Linked DNA regions of Homo sapiens: region 1 is linked to region 2. Evidence: promoter capture Hi-C in human tissues and cell types (Jung and others, 2019). All regions are on one chromosome and are shown on one strand. Each heading gives the region's core, a stretch centred on a gene start or on the middle of the fragment in contact. The rest is flanking DNA. Distances are from core to core; before and after follow the strand shown. Region 1 overlaps ERC1 (ELKS/RAB6-interacting/CAST family member 1). Region 2 holds the start of ADIPOR2 (adiponectin receptor 2).

Region 1 (2,907 bases), core at 196-2,695, 590 kb after region 2:
GTAAAAGGAAATAAAACTGAAATTCTTTTAAGATGTCATTTTCATTGATTCTCACTCTTAATCTCCAAATAAGTGAAATACTATTACATGCCATTTCCTAACACTCACACATGGAAGTTTTTGATCACTTAAAAGTATAAGGTAATTCATAAGATTCTTTACTAGATTCTCACTTACCTTCATCTCAATAACAGTTTGCAGAGCTTTTGTTTTGGCAGAATCAGGAGCATTCTCAAACCTTCGATGCATCTCCTGTAGAAAAGAGGCAGAAAGAGATTCAGTGCTCTCCTGTTCACCCTCATTTTTTTCAAAGAGGAGTGAGAGCCGATGTATGCAAAAGATCACTACAGCCTTATGAGACAATGACCCCTTCTGTGTTACCAACCTTTCCCTGTGAATCAGGGAATCCACAGACTGCATTCAGGCTCACTCAACCATGCAGGCATAGGAGGATCCCTATCTCTGAACACCTAGTTATTTAAAATCAGTCACACAGACACGAGCTACCATAACAGCTGAAACTACGATTTCACATCCTCAGGTTGTGTGTCAATCTTCCACATAACTCCGGGAAATATAATCAGAATTCCAAATGATCCAAAATGGGGATTAGAAATGCTCCCTTTTAAAAGGAGAAATAAATACCATCACAATCAGTCTGCATTGCTGACTGCAGCTGTGGAAAGCAATCTGTGTTGACAACATCCTTTCCACGGCATCCACCCCCAGAATAACCACCACCTGGTTACCTACGATGAAGCTCGCTCTCTAGTGGTGCTACAGTTAGGAAGAAAAACATGACACTGTTGAACAAGTTTCCTAAGTAGTTCAGGTTCAGAAAATGTCAGAAAAACATAGCTTTTTTTTTTTTTTTTACCCAAATTTTACTGAGTTCAGGATAGAAAAGGAAGGAAGGGATATCAGAGCCTTCCAGGTTACCAAACCACTTCAGTGATTTTCTTGTCAGACTCTGTGAATGTCTCTAAATAAATCAGTCAGTACTTCCAAGTACCCTGGGGACAGGCTCTTGGGAATCCAGGGAATACAGAGATGAATGCTTTCTGCTGCCTCTCTCCCTACTTCCAGCTTTAACTATCCACCTAGTCATCTCACTTTCATGTCCAACAAACATTTCAAACTCTACATGCTCAAAACTCAACTCCTGACCAAGCGTGATGACTCATACCTGTAATCCCAGCACTTTGGGAGGCCAAGGCAGGAGGGTCACTTTGGCCCAGGGGTTCGAGACCAGCCTGGGCAACATGGCAAGATGTCATCTCTACTCCTGATGGTGCCCCCAAACCTGCTCCATCCTTCCTGTTACTCAGGCCACAAACCTATGAGTCTTCTTAATGCCTTCCTTTCGCTCTCAAGCCGCAGTCAGGAAATCCAGTTAGCTCTAGCTTCAAAACATACCCAAAATCCAAGCACTTCTTGCCATCTCCACGGCCACCACCTGGAATGAACCACTAAACAAAAATATACCTTTTAATCCATAACAACCTTCTAACTGAGCTCTGCTTTATCTTGCTCCACTACAGTGTTTTCTTAATGGAGCACTTCAAGTGACCCTTGTAAACATAAAGTTGTCCTTGTCAGTCCTCTGCTGAAAACCCTGTCATGGCTCCCCATTCGACTCCAACTAGAGCCCAAGTCCTCTCGGCAGCCTGCAAAGGCCTCATCTCATCGCTCTTCCCTGGGTCTCCATGCTTTAGCCACTATGGACTCCTTGCTGCTCCTCAAATATGCTAAGCATGCTCCTGATCCTTAAGCCCTTTGCACAAGCTGCTAGGGGAAGACTTCACTTCTTTCCAGTCTTGGCTCAAATGCCTCTTTTGTGTTAGTATTAGGTTTAGTTGTTGTGATAATGCCATTGTCGCTATGCAAGAAAATGTCCATATATTTTAGAGACGCATATTAAAGTCTGCAGAGGAAAATGACGTCATGCCAGGGATTGGCTTTAAAATCTTTGGTAAAGAAAAGAGGAAAAAGAAAAAAGAATACATGGAGGAAGTGTGGCAAAATTTTCGAAACTGGTGTATCTGAGTGATGAGCATGTGGAGATTCATCATGCAGTTCTTACTGCTTTTGTGTAGGCTTGAAATTTTTCATAACAAAATGAATGTTCAACGTTTTCAGTATAATCTACACCTTATTTTAAAATTTAACACAGCCAAAAAAGAACGCATGTGTCCTTCCCCTTTACTTCGCTCTACTTTTTCCTGTGTATAGCACTTACCCTCTAACATATTTTATGATTTATTATGTTTACTTATTATTCTCTACGAGAATGTACGCTCCACAAAAGCTAAGATCTTTGTTTCATTCATTCACTGATGGATCCAAAGCACCTACAACAGTAGCTGCCACACTGGTAAGCGCTTAATAGACATTTAAGGAATGAATACTGAATGAATGAAATGGCTACCAAACGTTCAAGAATTAGCTAGAAAGGAAATATTTTAGTCCCTTCCTACTCCTGTGCTGAATTTTGTACACCTCCTATTTCTCATACAGCATGCTACACAGCTTACATAGCTCCATGAGCACTTACCCCATTGTATTAGCAATAGTTTTTCTTCTCTAACATACCATACTGTGAACTCTTTTAGAAACTGTCTTCTGTATTCCTCAGGCACTGTCTGATATGTAAGCAGTCGTTAAAAATTACTTCTCCTCTCTATCTGTTCCTCTTTTGTTAGATGAAGGAATGAATGATGAATGAATGATCAGCCAGTTTCTATCCTCACCTCTCCACTGAACCATACGATCTAAAATAGCAAATAAAAAACCTCCTTGTTTCTAAACCTAATAGTTATTGTCAGTTCACCTCCTTTGCAAACTCTAGCTGGTACCAGAAAAAAAAAAATTTAAGTTAAAGAAGGAACGTCTTTAAAATTTTCAACC
Region 2 (3,090 bases), core at 243-2,742:
CTAGATAGGAACGTATACTGGAGGACAGACAGTTACAATCAGAAGTTAAAAGAAATATGCCTTTCACATTTAATTTGCAATTTTTTCAAATTTCATAATTCACCAACAAGCAGCTGCCACATGTGTGGAAATCTTTACTGATGAAATAATTTTAGTTGCAGATCATCACAATCAACACTCTGACAACAAATTTATCAGAACGGATGAAAACATCTAGGAATTACCTAAGAGTCGTTTAAGGAGACATAAGGGTGGCCTTTGATAAGAGGTCACTTCAAACTTTCAGAACTGACAAGACGTATAGCCTCCCCCCAAAAAATAATGCTATGGGTAGATGGATGCTTTTTTCTGAAGGAATTTTTAGCATTTCATTTGGAAAAGTTCTGTGATCAAATAATGCTAAATGTTATGACAGCTTTCTTGGCGTTTAAAGGGATTCTCTGGGTGAGGGGAAGGGGTGATAAAAAAAAAAAAAGTCTGCTTTTGGAACAGAAATGGGGGACAATAACCAAGGCTCAGAAACCCAGAGTCAAAAAATTAAAAGAACATCTTATTTTAAAAAAAAAGTCAACAACCTGCAATGAAGTCACCGTACCCCCATAAAATCCCAACTGTGCATTTAAATCTTTCTACCAAAATTCACTTTTGGACCATCTTATGAAGTTGTCAAAATTTCAGAGGCAAACGCTTAAATCAAGATCAAAAGCCAGGAGGAAAAAAGAGCTAACAGTTTCCAACCCAAACTCTCTCCGAGCCCCCTAAAAACTGATTTATAACCCTGTCATCGGTAATTTTAGAAGAAGCGAACACTGACGGACGGGGGCTTGGGAAAACAGGACTCCAGGTACCAAGCAGGCTGCCTGACGCGCCACCTGAAAAAGGTGAGGGAACTCTTCCCCACCCCAGTCACTGTGAAAGTAGCGCTGAGAGAGCCCATCCCAAGCCTCCACCAAACAAATTCCTAGAAGTGATAAAAACAGACAAGAGACGAAGAGGGGCGGGCAGATCCTCTCCGCGGGCAGGGAGCTGGAGCAACTGCACCCGAAGGTGAGCAGAGGGCAGCAGGCTCCGACCCTCCGCCGCGAAAGGCGAGGCGAGGGGAACAGCGGGCGCCGGACTCCTCCGACAGCGGTCGCAAGGAGGGCGGCTCCAGGTCCCCACACGGCCGACCCTCAGGCCAAGGCGCGCCGGGCGGCAGGTCAGAGTTAGGAATCAAGTTGCGGGCCGGGCCGAGAGCGCGCTCTCCCGCCCGCGCCAGGGACATTCGCCCCTCAGCTCTCACCTCCCCCCGACCCCAAGCTCTCCCTCTGCGCCCAGGAAACGGCGCCCACACTCCAGAGACCCTCACCCGGAGCCCGTCGCCGCCTCACCGCGTGTCTCGGACTTCTTGGGAGCCACCGCTGAGGGGAGGGGGGAGGAGGGGGGAACGGAGGAGGGAGGGGGCCAAGCCCGGTGTAGCCGCCGCCGCTGCCGCCGCCGCGATGCCGCTTCTGGAATCGCGCTCTCGCCGCCGCGACAGCGACCGCCGCCGCCGCGTCTCCCCGCCCCCACGACCGCACGTCGCCGTGACGCGCATCGCACGAGGCGGTTCGAGCCAATAAGACCACACGCCGTGCGCAGCCGCGCTGTCCTAAACCGGAAGCCGCCCCTCTGACCGCTCTAAAACCTGGGTGCATCGTGGGAGCTGTGGTTCGGCCAGGAACTTAGCGAAAACTATACTGGGTGTTGAGGGCCGGAGGAGCGTGCGCTCCTTAGGCGCTCACACAACTCCTCGGAGTTTTTTCTCCCACCGAAAAAGGAAGCAATTTGGAGCTGAGGAGGAGGGGGCCGCCCCGGCTCGCGGATGCTTTTCGCAGTCTCTATGGATACTGGCTACACACTTTGGGCAAGAGCCAGAATTTGAGGATTTAGGCTGGATCGTGTGTCTCTGCCAAGGGCTGATAGGATGCTGAGCGTCGTCTGTGAAGACTGCGGAAAGAAATCCAAAAGCATTAGCCCAGTTTTGCCCAGAGCAATAGTGTTTGCCTTTTATTACCTTATTAAAGATTATGATTTATGCTCTACCACTTCTATTTTTTTTAAAACCCAGTCACTCTTAAAATACATATAATTCAGAGCGATTTTTAAAATGATGTTAATGTAATGGTATATCAGAACCTACTTAAGCACTAAATACCTGCGTCCATTTACCCAGAATGAGTAAGTAATTTTCCACAAGTCATCTTTACGTTGAGTTCTAACTTCTTAGAAGCCAAGAACAGATTTGGTTACGTACTTATTCTATAAGAAAAGTGAATATAAGAGTTAGTCTGCGTAGAAAAATAGTTCTTTACATTCAGTAGGAGGGGGAATTTATCACATTCTTAAGGCGTAAATGCCTTAACTATCAAAATTCTTGTTATTGACTAAAGGAAATCCATACGATTTAGGGAAAGTCTGTGCCCACGGCTTACTGTCCTTACCTTTGGACCACAGCAAGAGATAACAAAGGGTGCAGGGAAAAGCTGACAGGTCTTGAGGGAGCTGGAGTCGGATATATGACGAAAAAAACAAAAATACAGAAGTCTTCATTATGGAAATGTAAGTTTTAAAAAGTAAAGCTACTAAAATCACAAAGAACATGATTAAGATGGCAATAATACAGAACTAAGGCCCACTCATTTAAGCTTGAAAGAGATAAAACTAGTAGAAATTAAAATTAGGAAATAAATGTTAAAGGAACTAATTTCCTCCAAGGAGTGGTTTACATTGAAAATATAATTTTTTTAAGTTTACATAATTTGTGAAAGACATAATAATAATGACTTCTATGTTCCCAGGTAAAGATGTAAAGCTTTTGAGGTTGAAATCAAGGAAGACAATTGTACACCTCCTCAGCACATCAGAAACAATACAGGCATTTCTGGATTGTGAATTTGACCCGTTATACCAACTCACATAGAACAGAGATAAGAAGTATAAGATTCTTAGGCTTAATAAAGAGTCTACTAAAGGTGACAGAACTAGAGCGAAAAAGATAATTTTCTTAAAAAGAGATTCTTCAAAGATCTCCAATCTTTCCTGCATCCCTTTCTCTTAAAGACTGGTTTC

The links. The method cuts DNA at HindIII sites, captures the fragments that hold promoters and counts their contacts. A contact is called where the count stands out against the background at its distance.
Region 1: a contact is called between a fragment that was not itself captured here and the fragment with the promoter of ADIPOR2 in region 2, in 1 of the 25 tissues and cell types used here (adrenal gland).

The regions. Positions count from the first base shown.
Region 1 is chr12:1,102,095-1,105,001 of GRCh38, reverse strand. ERC1 (ELKS/RAB6-interacting/CAST family member 1) reads right to left here. Exons shown (of 19, transcript NM_178040.4): 4 at 178-252. Among named protein-coding and RNA genes, the nearest start is that of ERC1, 110 kb to the right of the region's middle. The HindIII fragment of the contact is 5,768 bases long and covers 1-2,907 here.
Region 2 is chr12:1,689,472-1,692,561 of GRCh38, reverse strand. ADIPOR2 (adiponectin receptor 2) reads right to left here and starts at 1,492. Exons shown (of 8, transcript NM_024551.3): 1 at 1,371-1,492. RefSeq lists silencers at 1,190-1,279, 1,300-1,599 and enhancers at 1,098-1,676, 1,760-1,809, 1,830-1,989. The HindIII fragment of the contact is 10,259 bases long and covers 315-3,090 here.